6 separate regions of the Homo sapiens genome follow, and all the other regions are linked to region 3. The links are contacts of gene promoters, found by promoter capture Hi-C in blood cells and fetal thymus (Javierre and others, 2016). All regions are on one chromosome and are shown on one strand. The core of a region is centred on a gene start or on the middle of the fragment in contact, and the rest is flanking DNA. Distances in the headings are between cores, read along the strand shown.

What was found. The method cuts DNA at HindIII sites, captures the fragments that hold promoters and counts their contacts. A CHiCAGO score of 5 or more calls a contact.
Region 1: a fragment that was not itself captured here is called in contact with the fragment with the promoter of ICA1 in region 3 in 3 of 17 cell types (total B cells, total CD4 T cells and activated CD4 T cells); the score reaches 6.3 in total B cells.
Region 2: a fragment that was not itself captured here is called in contact with the fragment with the promoter of ICA1 in region 3 in 3 of 17 cell types (naive B cells, neutrophils and total B cells); the score reaches 8.8 in naive B cells.
Region 4: a fragment that was not itself captured here is called in contact with the fragment with the promoter of ICA1 in region 3 in 1 of 17 cell types (naive B cells); the score reaches 6.3 in naive B cells.
Region 5: a fragment that was not itself captured here is called in contact with the fragment with the promoter of ICA1 in region 3 in 3 of 17 cell types (total B cells, non-activated CD4 T cells and naive CD8 T cells); the score reaches 6.1 in total B cells.
Region 6: a fragment that was not itself captured here is called in contact with the fragment with the promoter of ICA1 in region 3 in 2 of 17 cell types (naive B cells and total B cells); the score reaches 9.2 in naive B cells.

The regions. Positions count from the first base shown.
Region 1 is chr7:7,076,893-7,081,005 of GRCh38, forward strand. The region is part of intron 1 of LOC105375138 (a long non-coding RNA gene); the gene reads left to right. It also overlaps the pseudogene LOC100131257. Among named protein-coding and RNA genes, the nearest start is that of MIR3683, 12 kb to the left of the region's middle. The HindIII fragment of the contact is 165 bases long and covers 2,278-2,442 here.
Region 2 is chr7:7,094,921-7,099,405 of GRCh38, forward strand. LOC105375138 (a long non-coding RNA gene) reads left to right here. Exons shown (of 5, transcript XR_927009.3): 2 at 38-211; 3 at 3,070-3,198. It also overlaps the pseudogene LOC100131257. Among named protein-coding and RNA genes, the nearest start is that of MIR3683, 30 kb to the left of the region's middle. The HindIII fragment of the contact is 5,178 bases long and covers 1-4,485 here.
Region 3 is chr7:8,259,842-8,264,117 of GRCh38, forward strand. ICA1 (islet cell autoantigen 1) reads right to left here and starts at 2,326. Exons shown (of 14, transcript NM_001136020.3): 1 at 2,253-2,326. ICA1-AS1 (ICA1 antisense RNA 1) reads left to right here and starts at 2,384. Exons shown (of 6, transcript NR_125740.1): 1 at 2,384-2,578; 2 at 2,739-2,985. The HindIII fragment of the contact is 9,065 bases long and covers 1-4,276 here.
Region 4 is chr7:7,050,215-7,054,505 of GRCh38, forward strand. The region is part of intron 1 of LOC105375138 (a long non-coding RNA gene); the gene reads left to right. Among named protein-coding and RNA genes, the nearest start is that of MIR3683, 15 kb to the right of the region's middle. The HindIII fragment of the contact is 2,592 bases long and covers 1,366-3,957 here.
Region 5 is chr7:7,030,651-7,035,375 of GRCh38, forward strand. The region is part of intron 1 of LOC105375138 (a long non-coding RNA gene); the gene reads left to right. Among named protein-coding and RNA genes, the nearest start is that of MIR3683, 34 kb to the right of the region's middle. The HindIII fragment of the contact is 1,849 bases long and covers 1,846-3,694 here.
Region 6 is chr7:7,001,516-7,005,613 of GRCh38, forward strand. All of the region lies in intron 1 of LOC105375138 (a long non-coding RNA gene), which reads left to right. LOC124901585 (a long non-coding RNA gene) reads right to left here and starts at 1,673. Exons shown (of 2, transcript XR_007060204.1): 1 at 1,596-1,673; 2 at 13-320. RefSeq lists an enhancer at 608-1,246. The HindIII fragment of the contact is 165 bases long and covers 2,591-2,755 here.

The sequences.
Region 1 (4,113 bases), core at 1,110-3,609, 1.2 Mb before region 3:
TCTTTGCAGGCTGTGGATGCACACAAGGCAACTAAAATCTTGGGCATCGTTTGAAAATGTTTGGCTGCCTGCTACAAACTCAGAAGAGAGAACACTTACTTATATTCATACTTGTATTGGACTGGATATATTTTAAATCCAATTCTTTTTTAAAAAAGATGCCTCACTTTAGGAAATAAGACATCAGACCAGCAACATCAACTAGGTATGGAATACTTGCTGGTGAGACACTTAAAACTAGGAATCTTCTAAATCTTCTAAAGGTGCTTAAGAGCATGGAGAAATCAATAAACAGGCATCCAAGTGTTGTGGCTGTAAAGCAATAACATAGGGTCCCTAGTAAAGAGTAGGCCTAAGAGTTGGTTTTGGAGAGAACTTGGGCCAAGAACAGCAGAAAAAGCTAAATGAGCTACTTATGTTGATGTGTTTTAATACTGGTGCATTCGCAGTATCTTATGGAAGTTGTGAACACTAAGAACCAATTTCAAGAAAAATAAAAATGTTTATAGGGCATATTAAAATAAAAACAGCTTAAATTAGTTCTGTAAATAAAATAGGCCTAGCACAGTGACTGATGCCTGTAACTCCAGCACTTTGGGAGGACAAGGTGAGAAGATCACTTGAGGCCAGGAGTTCGAGACCAGCCTGGGCAACAAAGTGAGACCCCATCTCTGTTCTTTTTAATATCAAAATTATTATAATAAAAAAGTAAAAATAAATGTACCTACTTAGAACACATATTAAATAAAGGAATGCCATGAGAAAATGGCACTGCATTTACCAAGTCACCACTAGATTCTTGTGCAATGATAAAGTTTGAGACTATGTATTAACAATTTCATAAATAAATAATCAACAATTTTCTTTCCACTATTTTGATGTTGGGTAAAGCCTGACATGTGCTGTCAAGTTTTCCATTTGCATTACATCAAATTCTTGTCTACTATGGATATTCTGATATAAAAAAGACTAGTTAAACTCCTATTGAAAGATTTGCCATTCACTACACTCACATAACTTCTCTTAGATATAGATTCTTTGATGTTGAATGAGCGTTGGGTTGTGACTGAATCTCCTCGTGCACATACACATTTATTACATTCATAATCTTTTTGCATGGCATGAATTTGATACTAAACAAGGTAGTTTCTTTGACTGATGGCTTTTTCACATTCATTGCAGTAATGGAATTTTATTCCCATACGAATTCTCCAAATGTGACTAAGGTATGAAATTATTAATAGCATGAAAATTGAATTATCTGATGCTGAGTAACGGTTGAGCTATGACTGAAGGCTTTACCACATGCAGTACGTACATGATTTCTCCCTGGTGTGAACTCCCGGATGTTGAATGAAGCCTGAATTTGACTAGACTAAATGTCTTCTCACCCTCGTTATATTCATGAGTTCTCTTTGGTATGAATGCTCCGATATTGAACCAGGTGTGCTCTCTGACTGGAGTTCTTTTTCCGTACATCACAATCAAAGACTTTCTGTCTGGTGAGGACATCTTGTTGCAGGATAAGGTCTGAGCTATGACTGAAACTGCCCTCATACTCGTTACATTTATATGATTTCTCTTTCCTATACATTATTTGATGGTGAATAAGGCATGAGGTTTGACTGAAAGCTTTTCCATATTCATTACACTCATGCAGTTTCATTCCTGTGTGAATTTTTTGATGCTGAATAAGATGTGAATTCAATCTGAAGTCTTTTCTACATTCATTACATGTATAGGGCTTTTCTCTGAAATGAATTCCTTGTTTAATATAGGCCAACCCATATTCATCATATTCATAGGATTTCTCTTCATGGTGGACCCTCTGATGTTCAAGCAGATATGAAGGATGGCAGAAGTCACTGCCAGATATAGTACACTTACAGGGCATCTCTTTGTGAATTTTCTGATGTTGAGTAAGGTGGACACTATGACTGAAGATTCTTTCACAACTGCTACATGTGTAAGCTTTGGCTCTGGTGTGAATTTTCTTGTGTTGAATTATGCCTGAGCTTGGACTACAGGATTTATCAGATGCTTCACATTTGTAAGGTTTTTCTCTAGTGTGTATTCTTTTATGTCGACTAAGACTCGAGCTCTGACTGAAACGCTTTTCACATTCTTTACATTTGTAGGGCTTCTCTCTAGTATGGATTCTCTGATGTCTAGTAAGGGCTGAGCTCTGATGGAAAACTTTCTCACATACATCACATTTATAGGATTCCTCAGTGTTAGGGATGCTGTCCCATTTATTAAGGAGGGAGAGATCCATTAAGCTTTCCTTACATATACTACTCTGAAAATCCTGTGTTAGATTTATGTGTTCATGTTTACCAGAGGCTGAATTCTGGCTGAAGCTCATGTCGTTCTTATCATTATCATCAGTGTTCTGTATTCTAAGAACTTTCTGATCTGCATCAATAGTAGAGTCCAGACTGAAGCTTTTTTCAGGTTTATTACATTCATTGTTCTTCTCACTGGTGAAGGCTTCTTTGCTGATTGTTATTTGCCTAAACTCTCCAGGTACAGGAATTTCCTTAGAATTTCCTGAAGCCTTTCTAATCTGTCCTCAGACTTATACACTTCTCTAGTCTCAGGAACTTAGGTAATATTGTGTTTGAGTCTTCCTACTATCACTTTGCATGAATGTACTTCTTCTGAAATTTTCTCCTTAGGAATCAACAGCTTGTTCTCTGGTCTCTCCATCTGATACAATATATAAATAGAAGATACAAATGTAATCTGTACCCTGTGCTTAGGAAAAGAAAACTCAGATGAGAAAACTGAACAATGTAATATCTACAAGGACAAGAAAAGTTTATTTATGCTGAAAAACAGGCTCAAAATCTCAACAGCAGAAGTAAGGGCATGAACAGGAGCAGTGAGGTAAAACAGCGGACATCTTTAGCAAAGTAAGAAGACACCAGTTAAGGAGATAATAGGGAAAGAGTTTGAAAGAATTTTAGATAAGCAACTTGATTAGCGGTCCAGTACAACATGTGCACAGGTCCTAAACAAATGGAAAGGGTCAACCTAACTGAAGGAAAAAGAAAATAACTCTCCATGCTGGGACACACACAGAACTCTTCATTCTGAGTGCCAAAGCAGCTACAACTTGGCTCAACAATTGAACTTTACTTCCCTACTAATTCCATCTGATTGATTCTGCCTTCCTCACCTGAGAAGTCATCTCTTAAGACTTCTCTAGTCTTAGTTTCCAGATCAAAGACCTGTAGATCCTGTTCCAGCTGGGAGAGCCCATCAGGCTTGGAAATTGGAAATCCTGATCATAGAGAAGGAAATGGGTGTGGCAATGTATCCCCAGATGCTACACCAGCCACTTTTTCTTTTAACTAATGATTAAGACAGAGAGAAGGTAAACTCTGAGAAGACGTTAATTAGGAAGGCCTGGAGAGTGAAGAGGGCAAAGATCTTCTACAAGGAGCTCAAATTTGGGCTCTAGAAAGATGTGTGTTAAGGGGCAAGTTGATGGCTTGGGAGCAGAAGGATTCATTTAAACATTATTCGGACAACAGGATGTGTGCATGGGTTTGTCTTCACAGAAGTTATCCTTATCACTCTCCATCTGTTACCTAAAGATCAATCTTTGGATTAGAGCTGGTCTACAAGCATCAAAATGGAGGTCATCAAAATATAATTCTGCTGGACTGGAGAAAGGTGAAACTCAAGCATCTGCTACATGGTTAGCTAACCTGTAGCAAAAGAATCAGTGAAAACTGAATAAATATTCTAAGAACCAATCTCAAGAAACAATTCGTTTCAGTGCACATAAGAAAACAAAGAATAATATGACACATTCTTACCCATTAGGAGTGTAGCATTTATTCAGTAAACATTTGTGGAGTGCCTCCTTTACGCAAAGTATGCAGGGGATAAAGAGGGCAAGCAAGGTCCCTTCCCTTAAGGACCTCAAGGATCCCACACTCTACACAGAGAGAGCTCTAAACAACTAACTACAATAAAATGTAGATAGAGGAAAGTGCAATCAAAGTGCATCTTCACATAAAACGGTCTTTCTATGGCTTGCATAATGGAATGCTTGGATCTAAATCTCTTTAAAAGCGAAAGCAATAGGCAGTCTGCTTCTGA
Region 2 (4,485 bases), core at 1,218-3,717, 1.2 Mb before region 3:
AGGTAGACTAACACGTGATGCTCATTTTTTTTTAAAGCCTGCAAACAGTAAGAAGATTCCCCTCTCTTTCTCAGTGGATGTAAAGCAGTGATTCTGCATAAATGTATCAACACTATAGCTCAACTCCTTCTGGAGTGGACTTCCCCTAGACCTGGAGAGCGAGTCCTGCCTAGCATACACGGCCTGAAGTTCGAGATCTCTTCCAATTCAGGTAATATTCCGCTTTCTGTATGCCTGATCTCTACATATATCTGACATTGATTTTTAACTCAAATGAGGAAACAGGAAATTATTAATTACAATCTCCTAAAACTACAACAGGTGTTATAAAACTTCTGAATATAAACAGGCAGACAGCAAAAATGTACACAGGCATAAAATGTAAACTTGAGTGAGAAAAAGGAGCTGAAAAATGAAAGGCTCGCTTTGAAACAAAACAGCACTGAAGAGTCTACAAAGAGAGAGTGACTGGAGAGAGACTGATGTGGGAGAGCAGAATGGGGATCAGATTATAATGAGTATCTCTCCCACACTAAGGAATTTGCAGCTTTTTTTGATAGGCAATAAAGAGTTACATATAACAGCTGTATTTAAATTGTTCCTAGGTGATGGAGCTGCAGGTAATTCTTTTCTTCTTCCTTTTTGTATTTTACTTTTTCTTTTTTTTTTTTTTTTTTTGAGACAGAGTCTCACTCTGTCACCCAGGCTGGAGTGCAGTGGCGTGATCTCAGCTCACTGCAACCTCCACCTCCTGGGTTCAAGCAATTCTCCTGCCTCAGCCTCCTGAGTAGCTGGGATTATAGGCGCACACCACCATGTCCAGCTAATTTTTGTATTTTAGTAGAGACGGGGTTTCACCATTTTGGCCAGGCTGGTCTCGAACTCCTGACCTTGTGATCCACCCACCTTGATCTCCCAAAGTGCTGGGATTACAGGTGTGAGCCACTGCACCTGGCCTTAATTTTTGTTTATTGGAAAAGAAGGAAAATCTATATTTTTAAGGCCACCAGCCACAGCACTTAGAGAAGAAGGAGGACGTATATTGCTTTTGCTGTTTCCTGTTAGCCTGACATTTGCGACTACATTGACTCTGCTGGGGTCACTTTCTCTAATTTGTGGATTTTTTTTTCTTTCTCAACTGCCTGGAGGATATGTATGGGTCCATGACTCGGCCACCACATAAGATTGTGAAGATTATACCTGTCAAGGGTGCCCAGTCAAGGAAGAAGAGTGGCTGAATTCAGCCTGTGCTCTGCCTGAAAGCCCTATGCTCTGTGTGGGCCTTAGTCCACCTAGAGGAAGGGGTACCTTTTAAAAGTACACACAAAGGCACATCATGGGCTGGCCGCAGCCCTGCCTGGCCCCAGGTGAGCTAGCAGTGCCAGATGCCTCCAGAATAGACTGGAAGGCCTTCTGTCCCTCTATTATGTCAAAACTGCAACTGGAACTACTTTGTCCAAGGAAAGGAGAGAGAAACCATAGGAAAAGGCCATAGGAGAATGGTGTCTGGAAAAAAAAACTGCAACGAATATAAGAGATATGAATGAAGCAGATGCAATGAAACAACAGGTTTAATTTCAGGCTTATTTTAGCGAATGGAATAGAATCCCCATTGAGTAAACACGAATACAAAGGGTTTATTGAGAAGATACAGAGGAATTGCACAGAGCCAAAAGCCCAGTCTGGCTTCACAAGACTTGGAAAACTAGAGTGAGGTTCAAGGAGGTTTTCCCCGTTCATTTCTCCAGAGTCACACAGCCTCTCCTCTCCTCACCTCTGTACTGTCTGCTCTACTCTTCAGTCTCTCTCTAAAGACAAGTTTTTCTTACTCGTTAGAAAGCTCACGGCAAAAAATGGCTCCTCGATCTCAACTTTATGGGACCATTCTCTTCATGCATTCACTGTTCTCCGACCACAATGTCTATAGATTTGGATCAAATTTCCAAGAGATGAGAGAGCAAATTCCTATTTTACTCACTTGCAGATTCAAAATTAACACAGATATGATTTGTAAAGAGAGTATTTCTACCAGTCTTGACCAGGACAGTAGATTTCTATATTGAGTTCTACAGATCAGCCCATAGCTGTGTTGAAGTCAGATAAAATATAAAGACTAATCTCTAAATTTAAAACATTTTATTTGGGAAGCAAAGATTGGATTCAGCACATACCCACAGACTGGCTGGCCTTTAGTATGTCCAAAGAAAAAAGAGAAGGTTGGAGGCTTTTATAAAAAGGACAAATGTTACATATTATTTTGAAAGTAATTTCATTGGCACTAGTAAGGTTTTGGATAGCTGGCAAGCTCTGGTTGGTGAACGATGGTGGTGGCTGAAACTAGTTGTAGAGTTACAGCAGGCTGTTTCTGTAGCTATTATATTAAAACTGGTTCACGTTAAAACAGGCAGTTTCGGCAGCCAGGTTTGCAGAGAATTACATTCTTGGAGCAATATGATATGCCCTGAGTGCATTTTCCCCCTGGTTCCTCAACTCTGATTTAGTTGAGTATAACAAGAATGACCCAATTTGTGTGATCAACTTTCACAGCTGGTTCCCAATCATTGAGTCACAAAGTAAGAAATAATCAAGACAAGATATAAGCAATTTTATGAAAATTCCCCCACAATGTGATGAATTTATTGATGATCATCAACAGTGAAATAACCATGCTTAAAACTCCCTGTTCTATATAAATTATTGAACTGACAGACACAGGCATGTGACTTATCAAAGAAAAAAATAAGTATGCTTTTTAGCTAGAATGCCTGGGGAATTAATGAGTTCAAAACTTAGGGAGATGCATTATTCTCTCTTGTTAAACAAAATGAGACCGTATTTATGGGTTAATATTTGGCAAAGGTGTACAACTACCATCAGAGATGGCTTTGAACAGTCATGGAGTCTGAATGCTTTATTTAGCAAAAATTGTACAAGAACCCTATTAGAATACTAAGGCTACAAAATTCAGAGCAGGTAACCTTGATTTATACGTGTAGGAAAAATAAGTCTTTCAAATGTCAGAGTCTGGAGTTTTCTGCAATTAAGTCATAATTTTTGCTATTTTTACAGGTCAACAAGAAAACTCAATTCCTCTTCAGGAAGTTAAGTGACTTAAAGATTACATAAGAGCTAAGAAGACAAGCCAGCTAAGCATGTTCAAGACCGGGCTTTTTGAAACTGCACTAATTGATCATAACGGTGTGAGTTTCAAGCCCCTTCATAGCTTTCCTATAGCTCACTCTGTGCCTCTCCCAAATGACAAAAACAAGGCAAACCCATAGAGTATGAGTTTACATCATATGCAAAAAACACAAGTCCAGAGTATAGAAAATGGAAGAAGAAAAATGAAATCAATGAACTTTAATATCGTTAAAGTTAACACTATATCCATGGAACTTTGATCTGGCATAGTTTTTTGCCACATTTTATTTAAAAGATTTCAATTTATGCATCCTTTTCCACATCTAGGTTATGGATTCTGGCAGATATAAGATTGTCTCTTATTTAATCTCTGTATCCTTAGCAACTAGTGATATACCTAGCACAGAAAAAGCACTCAACACATTTGATGAATGAATGTGATTGTTCTGTTGACAAAAGGATAATAATCTCTTGACTAGAAAAAAAATCATTCTAAAAATCATCACATCAGGGACTAAAAGAATTTGGGAGTTTATTTACTGTTGTTCCTCTTTGTTTAAACACAGCAGGCCCTCCCAAGTATCCTATTGCATCTGGCCCACAAGATCTAGTTGCAGAGATAAATGATTCAAGAAAATTTCCCTGGCTTACTCCCCATTTATACCAGATCCACTACTTTTGCTTCCATCCTCCATTTCTCTGAATTCAGGGCCCAGTACCTCTGACTTTGATCAATGCTTTGGGCTCCTTCAGGTTTGATGACTGATAGAAGTTACCCTCTGGTTCATGAAACCTCTGCCTCCCACATGACTCTTGTCCTAGCTTGCTTCACAATGATTATGATTGTATTAGGCTCCATAAATACCATCATGATAATCAAATCAACACTCTTAGAGGGCTAACTGATAATGGCAATGAATACACCATGAATTCAATGGAGACACCTGTCTGTCATTACTTGTGTAAACGATACTCATTAGTGGTTCTCTGCCTTGGCTGTTCATGGGAAATACCTGGGGAAATCTAGAAATATTGATGCTTACCCCCATAGATTTTAACAGGATTGGCTTGGGGGAGGCCTGGCATTAGAACTTTTTAAAAACTTTCAGCGGATTCTTACATAAAGTTTTCAAATCACTGCTTTAGGCTGAAAACCTAACTGGTGCAATTTTTTCCATATTGCAGAGAATAGACATTACAAAATGAAAATGAAAAAATTTCCTAGCTTTGTGTTCTAGTTTCTTGTCTGTGTATACCATAACATTTATCTAAGTATTGCTAGGTGAATGTAGGTTGGCTGAGATGACATGTTAAAAATTTCCCTGGAGTAAAATGAGCTATATT
Region 3 (4,276 bases), core at 1,076-3,575:
AAAGTGTTTTTTGAGTTTAAAGTTCTGCTGAGGCAGATTGCGAATGGTGGTGGGGTTGGGGGATAAGATTCATTAGTGATCTATGTTGCCTCATGGACAAAACATGCAGATAGCATCCTTATTAATGGTTCCCATAAATCTAGTAATGCAGATGGAAAAAAAGGACACTAGTGACCAGCGTGCTGATTATAAACACTGCCACCTACCCTCAGGCTCAACCAACGAAGAGGAAAAATTCATCCTGACACTTGGGGCCTGTTAACTTCCTCCCTCTCTCGCATGAGGTTTCTATAATCTTAAAAGTTCATACCAAACATAGGTTTATCCTTCTACGTTATGGCATAACTACCAGACCTCCATACCGCTAATGCTGCTTGCACCTGAAAAAAATGTACTATTTAGTCAAATACCTTGAAAACGTACTGATTTTGAAGGCTCTGAGTAACAAAATTTTCTATACTTTTCGTGAGATTGATCTTTATGCACTGCGGTAAAGATGCGTAGAGAAAGCAGTCAGATAGTTACTCAGGTGTTCCAAATGGGGGAAAATAGTTACAAAATAAACCACCCAGGCAATTACCATCCAGTATCTTTAGCACTCAATGATCCACGGGTGGAGGATACAGGGTTAACGTTTTTTAACATCAGGTCTCTCCACAAATAGCCCGCTGTAGCTTAACTGTTACGTTTTCTAAAGATTCATCTTTATAAACAGTACAATTATTTCCCTTTGTAATACAAACAGAAACAATTAGAAAGCAACATCTCCTGCAATTAAGATGTATGTACAGTATTAGTATAAAACCAAAGAGTGATATTTGAGCTATTCAGGATTATAAATTGATTTTGTCCCTGTGGTATTCTCTACAAAGGGTGTTTCAAAAATAAAGACTGAAATCTAAAAATATATCTTTGGTTTGAAAACTTACTTAAAAGCATTTTTAGAGAGTGTGTGTTTTAAACAGGGGGTATGAAATTGCATCGGGAGCCTAGATTTCAAACTAAGCATTTCTTATTTCACTCCCTAACCACAGAACAGTTCAGATCTCAGATTCAAACCAGAGGGCCACAGAAACCAATTTGAGATTTTCCGAAGAGACTTCACTGAAACGTATGGACAAAAACATGTTTGCGATGAGTCATATTTTATAGGACCTTAATGGCCAATAAATGCCTTATGTGTCTTTCTTCCTACATTCAGTATCACTCCCAAGCAAGCTGGTGACATATTTTCCAGGCCTTGATAATTTTTATACCGTTACCAGATCTCGGTTACTAAGATTCATGAACAAAACCCTTTCTTGCGCTAATTTTTTAATGCCATCTAAATGAAGAGAACGCGATTCTTTCCAAACTAACTCTCCCCAACCAGGCAGTTAATGCCCTTCGCCAGAATAAGGGCGCGATACTTTTAAGACCCCAAAGAGAAGCTCAGGTGCTTTGGGGGTACTACAAGTAAAAAGACAGTGGGAAAGGTTCCTGGAGAGCCGCTTTGGGGGAAAGGCAGACATAACAACAGGATATGTTCGTTTCTAGAGGAAGCAGGAGCTGCAATAGCCCCGGAGCAGGAAAGGCGGAGTCAGCAGCGCCCAAAGGAAACGGGCGCGCCAGGGTTTGCTGGAACCGGGGTTGCTTAGGGGTTCTCGCCCCGTCTAGTCCGAGACTGCTGAGCACCTCGCCCCCGGGGGACCAAGCTCAGGCCTCCTGGCACTAGTGGTTATAAAGAGGTACCCATATGCTCTCTGCCGCCCCTGCCAAAAAAAGGGCCACGGAGGGGAAGAGAAAAAGCACACACCAGGCGCCGCGGCAGGTGAACTTGTCAACAAGTCAACCCTGGACGCAAGTCCCTGCCCACCAGGGAGCTCGGGGTCCTGGGGCCGGAGCCGCCGGGAAGGCGAGGCGCGCGGTGGGTGGGTGGGGTGGGCTGGCATGGGTGCCGGTGCTCCCAGCGCTGGGGCCGGAGCGCGGAACGCTTCCCTACCGCTCCCCCGGGGCTGACGCACGCTCTCACGGCGCGCGCATCCTCCAGACCTTCCCAGGCCGGAGGGAGGAGGGGAGGGGAAGGGGCTGATGCGGTTCCCGCACCGGGATCCGGGACCCGAGGAGGCGACTCGCCTATCACGCGCCGCCCGCGGAGGGCAGAGAAGGCAGCTCCTACCAGGCGTCCCCGACCGTCCCGGCTGCCGGGCGTCTCCTGCTGCTTCCTGCAGCCCGCCCGGCGCGCCCCCGCCCCGACCCCGGAGGGCAGGTACCTCGGAGCCCCGGCCCCCAGGAGCCTCCCGGCCGCGGTCGGAGCGTCCCTCCGGATCACTCATCCGACGTCAGCGTCAGCCGAAGGCGAGGGAAAGGGGCGGGGGGAGCGCAGGAACCGGCCCTTCCTGCGGCGGCCGCCACCAGCCGGAATAGCAACCGGCGGAGCCCGTGCGCACCGCAGCGCAGCGCAGCGGCCGGGGGGTGCGGGCGCCCTCGCCGCCCGGCTACCTACCGCCGCCTGGGCGCCGCCGCTGCCTCCCTTCCCCGCTTCTACCCTCCAGCAGACGCCCGCCGGAGCGACCCCTCCCAGGGTGACCGGGGGAAGGTGGGTGGCGTTGACCTCACCTTGCTTGGGGAGGGTCGGGGACTCGGGGAGTGAGTTTCTCTCTCTCTACTCCCCGGGGTCTCTCCTCGACCCCCATCTCCTGGGGTATCCCCCGCTCGGATCCGCCGCCCAGAGTGACCCCGCCCCTGCTCTCCGGCAGGTGTTCCACGTGGCCATAGCGTTTGCGTCACAATGACCTGGCGGACAGGTGGGAGCCACAGCGTACACCCCAGGGTTCCCTCTGTGCTGTGCGTAGTGCCTACTGCTTGCTTCCAGGTTAAATTTCTGTAGCTTTAGAGGACAGGAGACTTCATGACTTCACTGCCAAGAAAAGTTACAGAGGCCTGCTGTACCTGGAAATCAAGTTTGAGCTTCGAGAATAAAGGTCATGTTTTAAAAACAGCTGTGTATGTATAGGTATATGTTTTTCATTTCCATATATTTCTGTATCTTTTATTTTTAAGTTATTGCCATTTGTAGCAGTTTCATCTTCTCTTATCCTTTGTCACCAGGAAAGAACCAAACCATTGTTTCTAGAGACCCTGCAGTATACAGATCACAGGAAGAAAAAGTGTTGGCATAGCTGCTTCCTAATATTATCTATGTGGAAATGAAACCTCAATGTAGTATGACTTCATCCCTAGTTATGTTATACATTTATAAATAAGTTCATTCAGTCGTCGCTGAAACAATTTAAAAGGGCCGAATGATAGTTATTGAGTAATGATGCTGACGAATCAGAAATCCTGCGCTAACATGGATGGAGTGCTAGCTCTATGTCCGGCACATGCTGTATGCTTTATATTTAATCCTTACAGCAACCCAATACTGTAGATAAAATCATTATCCCGATTTCACAGATGAAGACACTGCCCAGAGTGCCATAAAGAGATTATTGAGCAGGGATTTGAATCTGAACCAGGAGACTTAGCTTAATCTCAAGATAGCATGGTGTCTTGCCAGAATGGATGGAGAAAAAGTATAGAATATGTTGACATTTTAATAGAAAGATAATAAGATACCTCCAGAAATTTACATAACCTTTAAAGTTATTCTTTGGGGATTCTGTTTGTCATAGATTTGAGCCTGTCCTAGTCTTAACACGAATTTTGGAGCTGAGTAAACATCTCCTTAGTAAGTGTGTATGAGTAAACAAATCATGAATATGGTCTACAAAATAGCAAATTGTTGAAAAGCTAAGATTCAGGAGAAATTTTCAGAGAGAAAAGCATTGCTTATATATATTTGGCTTTTATAAAAAAAAATTCAAACTAACGTGTTAACAACGCAAGCCAAATGATTTTGCTGTAAGAAAAAAAACCCAAAGCCTTTAAAATGAGAAAGTCTTCCTTACAAAAGAAAGATGATTAAGATATGTTAAGATACATTGATTCCAAGAACTGTAAATTTATGTGTAAAAAGCTATTATCGGGAGTTAAAAGGATAAAGAGATTATTATTCTTTAACAGAATGAAGTGCCGTAATGAACATCATAGGTGCCCGATAAATGTTGACTGAGCGTTATCATCAGTTAATTGAAGCATTGAGAAAGGACTAAATCACCTGAAAAGTTTTTCCTGACTCTGTAATGTTCTCCTTTCTACCAGTTACATGAAAACTTAATCAGAAGCCCCATTGGTCAAAGGCTGGCTTTGGGGCAAATATTTAAATCTGTTACAAAACAGCCAGTAGAATGGG
Region 4 (4,291 bases), core at 1,412-3,911, 1.2 Mb before region 3:
CAATGCAATATGAGAATCCCCATTGTTCCATATTCAATACCATTGCTTGGTATTTTATATCTTTTTAATTTTAACCACTCCAGTGGATATTTTAATTTTTATTTCCTGAGCCATAAATGAAGTTGAGCATATATTTATTGAGTATTTGCATATTTTCTCTGAGGTGTGCCAAGTATTTTTAAAATTGAGCTGTGTTTTACTGGTTAATACATAGGATTCCTGTCTATATATTCATTCCCTCTCACTGGGGTACAGGTCTTTTATTTTTTATATGTGTATTGAGAATATTTTTCTTCACATATCCCTCTCTTTAATGGTGACTTTTGTTAAATTTTGTTGTTCCTTAACTTTAATATGCTCCAATTTATCAATTGTTAACTACCTAGGTGCCCATCAACAGTGAAATGGATAAATAAATTGTGGTTTATTCAATCAATGAAATACTATAAAGCAATGAAAATGAACAAATCACAACTACCTGCAACAAATATAAGTGAATCTCATATAACATTGAGGGAAGGAAGCTAGCACAGGAGTAGATATTATTTTAATTTTTTTTTTTTTTAGTTTCAAAAACAAACAAAACTAACCCATGATGTTAGAAGTTAGGATGTTGACAACTTTCACTGGGCTGCAGTAGCTAGAAAGGGGCCCTAGTGGCTCTCTTGAGCTGCTGGTGAGAATCTGTTTCTGAATCTGGAAAGCTAGTCACTCAGTTTTGTTCAGTTTGTGAAAATCTATCTAGCTTCACATTTATAATATATGTTTATTTCAATAAAAATTTAACCAAAATAGAGGTACATATATCTGAGCCTCAACACCTGGACATCCATATTTCTTAGTGATTCAAATGGGCAGCCAGGGCAAGGACCTTCGATCAATATTCTGATCACAAATATGTGTGCAAATATAAGGACTGGAAGCCCCATTTTTTGAAAAATGTCTGTGGTTTATGGGAAACATTAAAATGGTGGGATTCTAGAGTTTCTTTTTTCTCTAACATTGTAATTTGTATTCTTACAATGTTGTTTTGTGCAATTGTGAAAATCCTGTGAATTACACTTCTCTGTGCTCTCATTTGTCAGTGTTGTCCATTTCTAGGAAGAAACATTTGCTTGCATGTCTAGAAGTGTGGCAAGAGGGAGGAGGGACAGAAGCTATGAGGAAGTGAGAAAATAAGTGCTGGCTTTCCTCCATCTTGTGCTACTCTGATTAGTCCCAGCTCACAGCCAAACATCCTCCTCTGACCAGATGTGGGGGCACAGTGGTGATGTACACTCGCCAGGAGGGCAGAGTCCAATGTTTATGGGGTTCTGCAAATTACTGGAGCAGAGTGTGGTCCCGAAGAACAGGAGAGACAGAGGAAGCTTCCAGCTACAGCTTTCTCCTCCACTTTTTCTCTGCCCTCTCATGCCCTGCTTGTCTGGCAATTTGAATGCAGACTAGACATTTCATCATTTGTTACAAGGACTTATGAAAAGGGATACGGACTCCGATGTTGTTGGGCAGATTCTAGTTTAGGCTAGAAGCTGGGGAGTAGGGGAGGAGATATAAGGGAGGAGGATGAGGTGTTAATGTTGTGTGTACTTTTGAGCCAGGAAAGAAATGTGATTCTGGGTGGTGAAGGTCTTGGCCAAATGGATCTGTTTTTCAGAGAGACAAAGAGCCCCTGTGATATTGTGAAGTATATATTTGGTATCCGTCCCCTTTCCTGGCATACAACTTTTAAAATACTTTGAATCTCCAAAGTGCTTTTTTTTTTTTCATATGCAATTGTTGACTGATAGATTGAGGATGGGACTGGCCACTAAAAAGACAAAGGCATGATCACAGGGTTGGGACTTTCAGCCCCACCCCCCAACCTTCCGGGGAGGGGAGAGAGGCTGAAGGTCAAGTTGATCACCAATGGCCAATAGTTTAATCAATCATGCCTATGTAATAAAGCCTCCATAAAAACCCAAAAGGGCAGAGTTCAGAGAGCTGAACACATGCAGGCTGACAGGAAGGTGAACCAGAATTTATTCATGTGCCAGGAAGATGGAACACCCCAACTCCACAAGGCAGAAACTCCTGTGCTTGGGACCCTTGCAGACCTCACCCTAGGTACCTCTTCTCTAGCTGCTTATTTGTATCTTTTAAAATAGGCCAGGTGTTGTGGCTCCCACCTATAATCCCAGTAACGCTTTGGAAGGCCGAGGTGGGAGGGTCATATGAGCCCAAGAGTTCGAGACCAGCCCAGCCAACATAGTAAGACTCCGTCTCTATGAAAAATAAAAGAAATTATCCAGGCATGGTGGCATGAGCCTGTAGTCTTACCTATTTGGGAGGCTGAGGCAGGAGGATCACTGGAGCCCAAGAGTTTAAGGTTACAATGAGCTATGATCATACTGCTACACTCCATCCTGGGCACATGCGCAAGACCCTGTCTTAAAAAAAAAAAAAAAGAGGAAAATCCTTTAAAATAAACCAATAAAAGGCTGGGCGCAGTGGCTCACGCCTGTAATCCCAGCACTTTGGGAGGCCGAGGCGGGTTGATCATGAGGTCAGGAGATCGAGGCCATCCTGGCTAACACGGTGAAACCCCGTCTCTACTAAAAATAGAAAAAATTAGCCAGGTGTGGTGGCGGGCACCTGTAGTCCCAGCTACTCGGGAGGCTGAGGCAGGAGAATAGCGTGAACCTGGGAGGTGGAGCTTGCAGTGAGCCGAGATCGCGCCACTGCACTCCAGCCTGGGTGACAGAGCAAGACTCCATCTCAAAATAAATAAATAAACCAATAAACAAAAGTAAGTGTTTCCTGAGTCTGGTGAGCCAATCTAGCAAATTAATTAAACCCAAAGAGGGGATTGTGAGAACCCCAACTTGAAGCCGGTCAGTCAGAAGTTCTAGAGGCCTGAACTTGCAACTGGTGCCTGAGACGGTGGAGCAATGTTGAGGACTGAGCCCTTTGCCTGTGGAATCTGACATGATCTCCAGGTAGATAGTGTTGGAACTGAACTGAAGGACACCCAGCTGGTGTCTGCTGCAGAATTGATTGCTTGTTTGCTAGGGGGGAGAAATATCCACATATTTTGGGGTCACAGAAGTCTTTTGTGTTGATGATTATTGATGTGTGGTATGAGAGCAGAGGAAAAAACACAGTTTGAGTTTTTCCCAACAGTTCCCATCCCCAGCTGCTTGATGGTTGCGAGTTTTTTGCCACTATAAATCAGGGGACTTCTGTAATCATTTACGCCTCGTTTAGGGAAAAAAATCAAATTATTGCATTGTTTGCTTCTGTATCTTATTTCCTCCTCCCTTAAACCGTTAGTTGTTTTCAAATACAAAATCCTATGTAGCCCAAAATTAGCATTTCTACACCATAAATTGATTGTATTGAATTAGCGAATAATGAGGCAAATTGGAAGAACCAGAACAACTGAAGGCAAACCTCCCAAAGCCTTACTTTTTATCGCAGACAAAGCAAATCCCTCCTTTCTTTTCTTCTGCTGTGCTTGTCACTTCTGTAGAGCTGCTATTCCAGCTGGCCTGCCCTGTTCTTGGTGATATTAGAGATCTGTAACTCACCCTAGACCACAGGTTCTCAGAGTGTGGTCCCCAGAGCAGAAGCATCATCTGGAAACTTTCAGACATGCACATTTTAAGGCCGCAGCCCAGACCTCCTGAATCAGAAACTCTGGGAATGGGGCCCAGTGCCCTGGGATTTAACAAGTGTTCTAGGTGATCCTAATGCAGTCTACAGTGGTTCTCAAACTCTATGAGTTCCTTTAGGTAGAGAGCACATCTGAGGTACCTCCTGCAGGACTTGGAAACCAATTGAATGTGGGAAGGTAGAGAGGAAGTAAAAGATAAAGATGTTTCAACAAACCAAGTAAGGAATACAAAGAAAAGAGGTGTTTTGGTTTTGTTATTGTTTACTTGTTTGTGGTATTTACACAGAAAGAAGTAGGTGATAAAAAGCTTTTTTATGCCTATTTTCAAAAGCCCGTTCTACATACATGTGTTGTCCGCTCAAAACATCCATCTGCTACGGACAGCAGCGACCATAGCTGAGGAGCCACATGGGTTTGGCTGTAAATCGAAGCTCTGCCATGTTTAATTCTTCGAGCCTGGGCAAAGCCTTGCACATTCCTGAGCTTTAGCTTCCTCATCTGACAATTGGAATAGTCATACCTACCCCACAGAGTTCCTGGAAGTATTAAATGAGATCATGTATACAAATCAATTAGCAAAATTCCTGACTCAGAAATGGCTGGTACTATTTGCGTATAGATTTGTGAGCCTGCAGAATG
Region 5 (4,725 bases), core at 1,520-4,019, 1.2 Mb before region 3:
AAGTCTCGTGAAGACAGCAGATACTTGATTGGTAGATTTTTCTCCATTCTGCCATTCTGTATCTTTTAAGTGGAGCATTTAAGCCATTTACATTCATTGTTAGTATTGCGATGTGAAGTACTGTGGTATTCATTTTTGCTACTTGTTGCCTAAATCCCTTTTTATAATTGTATTTTGTTTTCTAGGCCCTGTGAGATTTATGCTTTAAATAGGTTCTATTTTGGTATATTTTGAGGATTTGTTTCAACATTTAGAACTCCTTTTAGCATTTCTTGTAGCACTGGATTGGTAGTGGTGAATTCTTTCAGTATTTGTGTGTCTGAAAATGACTTTATCTCTCTTTCATTTATGAAGCTTAGTTTTGCTACAGCCAAAATTCTTGGCTGATAATTATTTTGTTTGAGGAGGCTAAAGATATGACCCCAATCCCTTTTGGCTTGCAGGATTTCTGCTGAGAAATCTGTTATTCATCTGATAGGTTTTCTTTTATAGGTTACTTAATGATTTTTGTCTCACAGCTCTTAACAATCTTTCCTTTATTTTGACTTTAGATAACCTGATTACTATGTGCCTGGGATTACTATCTTTCTGCGATGAATTTCACAGGTGTTCTTTGAGCTTCTTGTATTTGGATGTCTAGATCTTTTGCAAGGCCAGGGACATTTTTCTCAATTATTCCCTCAAATATGTTTTCCAAACTTTTAGATTTCTCTTCTACCTCAGGAATACCAATTATTCTTAGATTTGGCCATTTAACATAATTCCAAGTTTCTTGGAGGCCTTCTTCATTTTTACCAAATTCCTTCTTCTTTGTTTTTGTCTGATTGAATTAATTTGAAAAGCCTTGTATTTGAGCTCTGAAGTTCTTTCTTCTACTTGTTTGATTCTATTGTTGAAACTTTCCACTGCATTTTGTATTTCTCTAAGTCTGTCTTTCATTACTAGAAGTTGTTATTTAAAAAATATATATATACACATATATATACTTATACACATATATACATACATATATATATAGACACATACATATATATATATATAATACGTGGAGCATTTTTCATCCATATCCTGTTTTTTTTAATTTAAGTTAGTCTCCACCTTTCTCTGTTATCTCCTTGAGTAGCTTAATAATCAACCTTCTGAATTCTTTGGCAATTTAGAGCTTTCTTCTTGGTTTGGATCCATTGCTAAGGAACTAGTGTGGTCTTTTAGGGATGTTACAGAACCTTGTTTTGTCATATTGCCAGACTAACTTTTCTGATTCCTTCTCATTTGGGTAGACTATTTCTGCACAAAAGTCTGGAACTCAAGGGCTACTGTTCAGATTCTTTTGTCTCATGAAGTGGTCCCTTGGTGTGGTGTGTTCCCCCTTTCCCTAGGGATGGGGCTTCCTGTTAGCCAGACTGCAGTGATTCTTATTGCTCTTCTTGGTCTAGCCACCCATTTGGGCTACTGAGCTCTGGGCTGGTGCTAGATAATGTCTCCAAACAATCCTGTGATGTGATCCATCTTCAGGTCTCCCATTCATGGATACCAGCACCTGCTCTGGTGGAGGTGGCAGGGGAGTGAAGCAGACTCTGTGACAGTCCTCGGTTGTAGATATTTTTAGTGTGCTGGCTTCTTAAATACTTGTTACGCTAGCAGTGAAGTTGTTACATGGACACACTCAGGACACACTCTGGTTAGCCAGGATGTTGCGGGCAGTGGAATTAGCTGTTGCCTTGTTCTTCCTGGGATCAGGCTTATTTTGTCATGAGTTGCTATAAGGATCTGAGTTGGTTGGCCTCCAGCCAGGAGGTGGTGCTTTCAAGAGGGCACCAGCTATGATAGTAGAAGGTGGATATAAGCTTGCCCTAAGTTGACCAGGGTAACTATTTGGGTTTCTCAGGCAATGGGAAGGGTCATAAAGCTCCCAAGAGTTTATATTTTGTGATACGCTACCAGGACAGGTAGAGAAATACCATCAGGTGGGAGCAGGGTTAGGTGGGTCTGAGCTCAGACACTTGAGTGGGGCTTGTTGTGACCACTGTGGGGGATAGGGGGTAGTTCTTGGGCCAATAGGCTTATGTTCCAGAGGAAATTATGGCTGCATCCGTGGCTAGGGAAGTGGTGGAAAGGCATTAGTGATAGGCCTTACCCAGTTCCCACGTGTTGGTGAGACTGGTATCTTTTCCACTGTACCCTGCTAACAGCGCTAAGTTTGTCTCCAGGCAGCCTGTCCACAGGACTCAGACCTTACCCCAGACTATAAGTTTCCCCACTGAGAAAGCAAGCAAGGCTTTCAGGCCATGCCCCTTCCTGTCTGTCCACACTGTCTGCCTCAACTCCTGCTCTACTCTTTGAGGCAATTCCTGTTCACCCCCAGATTCTGCTCAAGAAAGTTTGCACCCAGTCAAAATTATTACATAGTTCAGTTGGAAGCTCCTTTCATGCTGTGACCCCTCCCGAATTTTGCCAGCTGCCTTCACCAAGGTTCCCTGTGAGATATAGTCAGGGATGGCTTCTCTGGGCTCAAGCTGGAGAACGAGAGTGCCTACAAGGCTCTTCCCCTGCTGCTTCTATTTTTATATTTTATGCTAAATCCGTTTAATCTCTAGGTAAGGTTAAGTCCTTTCCTCATGATTTGAATTTTCAGGCTCTCCAGTGGCAACATGTATTCAGAGGCAGGTTTTCCCCGCTCACGCTTTGGGAATGCACGGTTTTTTGCCTGTCTCATGGAATATACAGCATACTGCCACTTCTTTCAAAGGATCTGTGAATTCTTTCAGTTTTTCTGTTATGGTGCTGCTATTGTTCCTGAACCAAAAGTCCATGGTGTGAGTCTTTATACACTGTTGTGTCTGTCCAAGTGGGTGCTGCACATCAGCCCTGTCCCATATCCATCTTCCATTTATCTCCTGGCTTTGTTCTTTTTATTCAAGATGACTTTGGCTACTCGGGGCCTTTTGTGCTTCCATACTAATTTTAAGATTTTTTTTTTCTATTTCTGTGAATAATATCATCAGAATTTTGGCAGACATTGAATTGAATCTGTACACTGCTTTGGGTAGCATAGACATTTTGATAATATTAATTCTTACAACCTATGAACACAGGATATCTTTCCATTTATTTGTATCTTCTTCAATTTTTTTCATCAGTGTTTTATAGTTTTCAATGTACAGATCTTTTGCCTCCTTGGTTAAATTTATTCTTATGTATGTTTTGGCAGCTATTGTCATTGAAATTGCTTTCTTGATTTCTATTTTGGATAGTTCATTGTTAGTATGCAGAAATGCTACTGACTTTTGTATGTTGATTTTGTCTCCTGCAGTTTTATTGAATTTATTGGTTCTAACAGTTTTTTGATGGTGTCTTTAGGATTCTTCTGTGTATAAAATCATGTCATCTGCAAACAAAGAAAATTTTACTTCTTTCTTTTTGATTTGGATGATTTTATTTCTTTCTCTTGTCTAATTGTTGTGGCTAGGACTTCCAGTACTACATATATTGTTTGTTTGTTTGTTCGTTTGGAGATGGAGGCTTGCTATGTTGCACAGGCTGGACTCAAACTCCTGGGCTCAAGTGATTCTTCCATCTCAGCCTCCCAAGTAGCTGGAACTATAGGGGTACACAAGCATGCCCAGCTTAGTACTATATTGAATGGAAGAGGGGAGATTGGGCAATCTTGTCTTGTTCCTAATCTTAAAGGAAAAGCTTTCAATTTGTCACTGTTGAGTAAGATGTTATCTGTGAACTTGTCATGTATGACCTTTGTTATGTTTAGGTAGTTTCTCTCTCTTCCTACTTTATTGGGTGTTTTTATCACAAAAGAGTGTTGAATTTTATCACATGCTTTTTTTTAATCTATTGAGATGATCACATGGTTTTTGTCCTTTATTCTGTGAATGTGGTATATTACATTTATTAATTTATTTATATTTAAAAGTCTGCACCCTAGGGACAAATTCCACTTAATCATGGTGAATGAGCCTTTTAATGTCCTGATGAATTTGGTTTGCTAGTATTTTCCTGAGAATTCCTGCATCTATGTTCATCAAGGATATTGGCTTGTATTTTATTTTCTTGTTGTTTTCTGACCTGACTTTAGTATTAACATACTGGCTTCATAACATGAGTTTGAAAGTGTTCCCTCCGCTTCAATGTTTTGGAAAAATTTGAGAAGGATTGACATTAGTTCCTTAAGTATTTGGTAGAATTCACCAGTGAAGCCATCAGGTCCTAGGCTTTTCTTTTTATTGCTGATTCAATCTTTTTCCTCCTTATTGGTCTGTTCAAATTTTCTATTTTTTCATGACTCAGTCTTGGTGGCTGTTTATTTATTTATTCTAGGTTCTTTGATTTGTTGGTATATAATTGTTCATGGCAGTCTCTTATGACACTATATTTTTGTGGCACCTGATGTAATTTGTCTTTCATTTCTGATTTTATTTATTTCATTCTTTTCCCTTTTTTTCTTACTCTAGTTAAAATATTGTTGATTTTGTTTATCTTTTCAGAAAACTCACTCTTATTTGCATTGATCTTTTCTATTGCTTTTCTGGTCTCTATTTCATTTATTTCTACCCTCATCTCTGTTACTTCCTTCCTTCTACTAACTTTGGCCTTAGTTTGCTTTTCTTTTTTCTAATTCCTTGAGGTGTAACAGAAAGCTGTTTATCTGAAATCTTTTTTTCTTTTTTGATATAGGTGTTTATTGGTATAAACTCCTGTCTTGGAACTGCT
Region 6 (4,098 bases), core at 1,423-3,922, 1.3 Mb before region 3:
TGGATACATGTATATGAAAAAGGGAGTTTATTAGAGAGAATCGGTTCACAGGATTACAAGGCAAAGTCCCACAATAGGCTGTCTGCAAGCTGGGGAAAGAGAGAAGCTGGTGGTGGCTCAGTCCAAGTCCAAAAGCCTCAAAACCAGGGAAGCCCACAGTGCAAACTTCAGTCTCAGGCTCAGGGCCTGAGAGCCTCGGGGAAGCTGCTGGTGCAAGTCCCAGAGTCCAAAGGCAGAAGAACCTGGAGTCTGATGTCCAAGTGAAGGGGTGGGTTGCCCCTCCACACCTGTGGGTGTTTTAATTAGGTGAAACGAGAGACCTGGAAAAGAAAGAGACACAGAGACAAAGTATAGAGAAAGAAAAAGGGAGCCCAGGGGACCGGCGTTCAGCACACGGAGGATCCCACTGGCCTCTGAGTTCCCTTAGTATTTATTGATCATTATTGGGTGTTTCTCAGAGAGGGGGATGTGGCAGGGTCATAGGATAATAGTGGAGAGAAGGACAGCAGGTAAACACGTGAACAAAGGTCTCAGCATCATAAACAAGGTAAAGAATTAAGTGCTGTGCTTCAGAGATACATACACATAAACATCTCAATGCCTTAAAGAGCAGTATTGCTGTCCACAGGTCCCATCTCCAGCCCTAAGGTGGTTTTCACCTATCTCAGTAGATGGAATATACAATCGGGTTTTACACCGAGACATTCCATTGCCCAGGGACGGGAAGGAGACAGATGCCTTCCTCTTGTCTCAACTGCAAAGAGGCGTTCCTTCCTCTTACTAATCCTCCTCAGCACAGACCCTTTACGGGTGTCGGGCTGGGGGACAGTCAGGTCTTTCTCTTCCCACGAGGCCATATTTCAGACTATCACATGGGGAGAAACCTTGGACAATACCTGGCTTTCCTAGGCAGAGGTCCCTGTGGCCTTCCGCAGTGTTTTGTGTCCCTGGGTACTTGAGATTAGGGAGTGGTGATGACTCTTAACAGGCATGCTGCCTTCAAGCATTTGTTTAACAAAGAACATCCTGCATAACCCTAAATCCATTTAACCCTGAGTTGTTGACACAGCACATGTCTCAGGGAACACAGGTTTGGGGGTAGGGTTACAGATTAAAATGGAGTCTCTTATGTCTACTTTGTATACAGACACATTAACAATCTGATCTCTCTTTCTTTTTCCCACATCCAAGGTCAGGAGGAATGGAAGCAAGCTTCCTGCATGGGAAGAAGAAAAAAAGGCTTCTGGCAGAAGCCTCCACTAGCAAGCCTATCCCACCTTCCTCCGCCTGCTTTGTTCTAGCTGCTCTGGCAGCTGATTGACTGGTGCCCACCCACCTTGAGGGTGGGTCTTCCTTCCCAGTCCACCAACTCAAATGTCAGTCTCCTCTGGCAACACCCTCACAAACACACTCAGGAACAATACTCTAGGCAGCTGTCAATCCAATCAAGTTGACACCTAATTTTAACCAACATACAAGATTTATAAGCTAAGTATGTCAATGATGATAAATAAGTGTTGTGGAGAAAAGCAGAGCAGAGAGGAGAAAAGGAATGCAGAGAAGGGTTTACAAGTTTTAGAAGAATTCATACTTACAGGCCCCTGTTTTCCATAAAAAACAGGAGGCTCATCTTCTGCAGGTACTGAAGGGCTTGGGATGTTGTGAGGGTGAACTTGAAAATAACAGACAAATATCAGAGTTAATGAGGGGAAAAAGAAAAGATGAGTGGGCATCATGGTGGTCCAGCAAAGGAGGAAAACCCAAGCATGAATGTGGACTGGCACCATCAGAGAGGGCAGAGCCTCCAATAACATGGGGCAGTCTGAGAGCCAGAGTCAAGACGTGGGGGAAATGGATCCAGGTTCTGTGTTTGGCACAGTGTGTGTGGAAGAAGGATAAGAGGGCTCGGGAGGACAGGTACAGTGAGTGTGCCTCCACAGGGATGCTCTTTTGGTATGTTCTATTATTGCTGAAAAATATGCAGTGCCCCTCCCTGGGGGAGGATTATGCTATATCTAGCCCATTGATATCAGTGTAGCCAGGTGACTTGCTATTGCCAGTGAAATGTGAGTAGAAGTGACAGGTGTTACTTGTGAGCAGAAATTTTAAGAACCACGATGTAGCTCAACACCAACTTTTTTTCCTCTGCCAGTATTCCAGGTAGGAGCGACTCCCCCAACCAAGGGCCCAGAATGAAAATTATGTAGAGAAGGGTCACAGCCTACCCATGATCAATATGTAGCTGGAGTGAGCAAACAAACTTTTCTGGTTGTAAGTGTCTGAGACTTGGGAGTCATTTTGTAACTGCAGCATAACCCAATCTAAACTGGCTAATTCAAGCTTGAATATTTTAAGTTGAAAGGGAAATTAGTAAAGCCATAAGTGACCTAATTTGTTGAGAGCAGTAACAGGAGCTGATGATTAGAGGCTTGGTTGCAGGCTATGGGAGAGAAGTATGGGAATGAAAGAGACAGATGAACTGGACATTTTCATGGGTAAGGAATGTATAATTTTACAGTGTTAAATAAAATGATGAATGTAAGATTATCTAGCTTAGGTCCCTGAACACAATGTGTGTTAAATAAACAAAAGCTTTCTTCAAACAGAATTCCCCTAAGCATTTCCAGGTTGTTCCCTGTCCAGACATAGATACACCCTGTGCAGTCATAGATACTGTTGAAAGATTCGGAAATAGGAATCAGGAGCCCTGGAGTAACAGGCCCCCAGAAAATCAGAGTGGAATTGTTAGTCCAGAAGCTTGACAAACATCCACCTTCATTGTCTTCCAACTGTATCTCTGACTTCCCTCTCCCTAGTTCATTACATCCCAGTCATATTGATATCGTTGCTGTTCTTGAACACATTAAGGAGAGGCGAATAGGGTTTTTAGCTGCTGAAAGTTAGACTCGTGGCTAGAGACCAGACTAAGTCCTTTTCCTTCATGTGGAGGTTATGATTAGGATTGTCAGAGAGAGTTAGGGTTTAATTTTTTCATTAAACTAATAATATGTTTTGAGTATCTATTGCATTATGGGGCATGGAGCTTATTACATTCATGGTGCAGAGGAAGAGGGGGAGTTAACAAGGCACATAAATTACATATATAAATGAAGGTAAGTGCTATAGAGAAAAATAGAGTAGAGAAGAAAATGCCATAATGGGGCCCGGGCATTGCATTATGTAATATCATCCTATATAGTCTGCTATAGTCCAAATAGTCTGCTATCATTTGGTTTTCTCATTGGATAAAATGTTGTGAACATCTCTCTGGGATGAAACAAAAACATTCTGTATTGCTGTAGTGAAAGGTCCTCAGAAGGGAATCATTTTGTCATTCCTGAGGCTTGTTAGATATGACCAACCCATCCACCGCATCTCAGTCATAACTACTCTAAACAACACCCACCAAAGGGGGAAAGGGCTTGCTGGAATCCAGCCATCAGTACATCCTTGCAGCAGCTGAAGACTCATTTCACTTTTACCCTAACTTGGCCATCATGACAGCACCCAGCCCAATATTCCAAAGCTAGGTATTTAACACCATAATGGGGACCACTGTTTCCTAGGAGGTACTGAAGGGTTTCAGAGGCTGCAGATACAAATGATGCTTACTGCTATATCTGCAGTGCAGAAAGCTGAGAGCAAAAGTGATGAGATATCAAGGCTGCCTCTGTGGTCTGGATGCTTTCTTTAAGAAACTGGCACCAAGTGTAGGCTATATGCAGACTGTCCAGATCAATTGTGGCAGACCTTGAAATAACAATCATAGCTACTGTTTATTGAGAGCATTTTGGGTCACCTTTTCAAAGTGATTTATTTTTGTCCAATGTTAAGTAACCGGCTTAGAAGCTGAACTCACAGGGTATGGCAGGGTCAGCCCCACCCTCAGAAAATCCTTCAGACCAAGCATGTCTCAGCCATCAGGCCCCAGCATAGACAGAAAAACACATCTCCCCACGGCATCTGGCTGTGATCTAGAACATCTGGTGACAGGACAAAGGTGAGGAAGACTGACAGGAAATTATCAGAGCAAGCAAATAACAGTCTGAAATTCGGGTTTCTCTGTGAGGCTACCTCTGTCCATTTCTATCTCTGAGC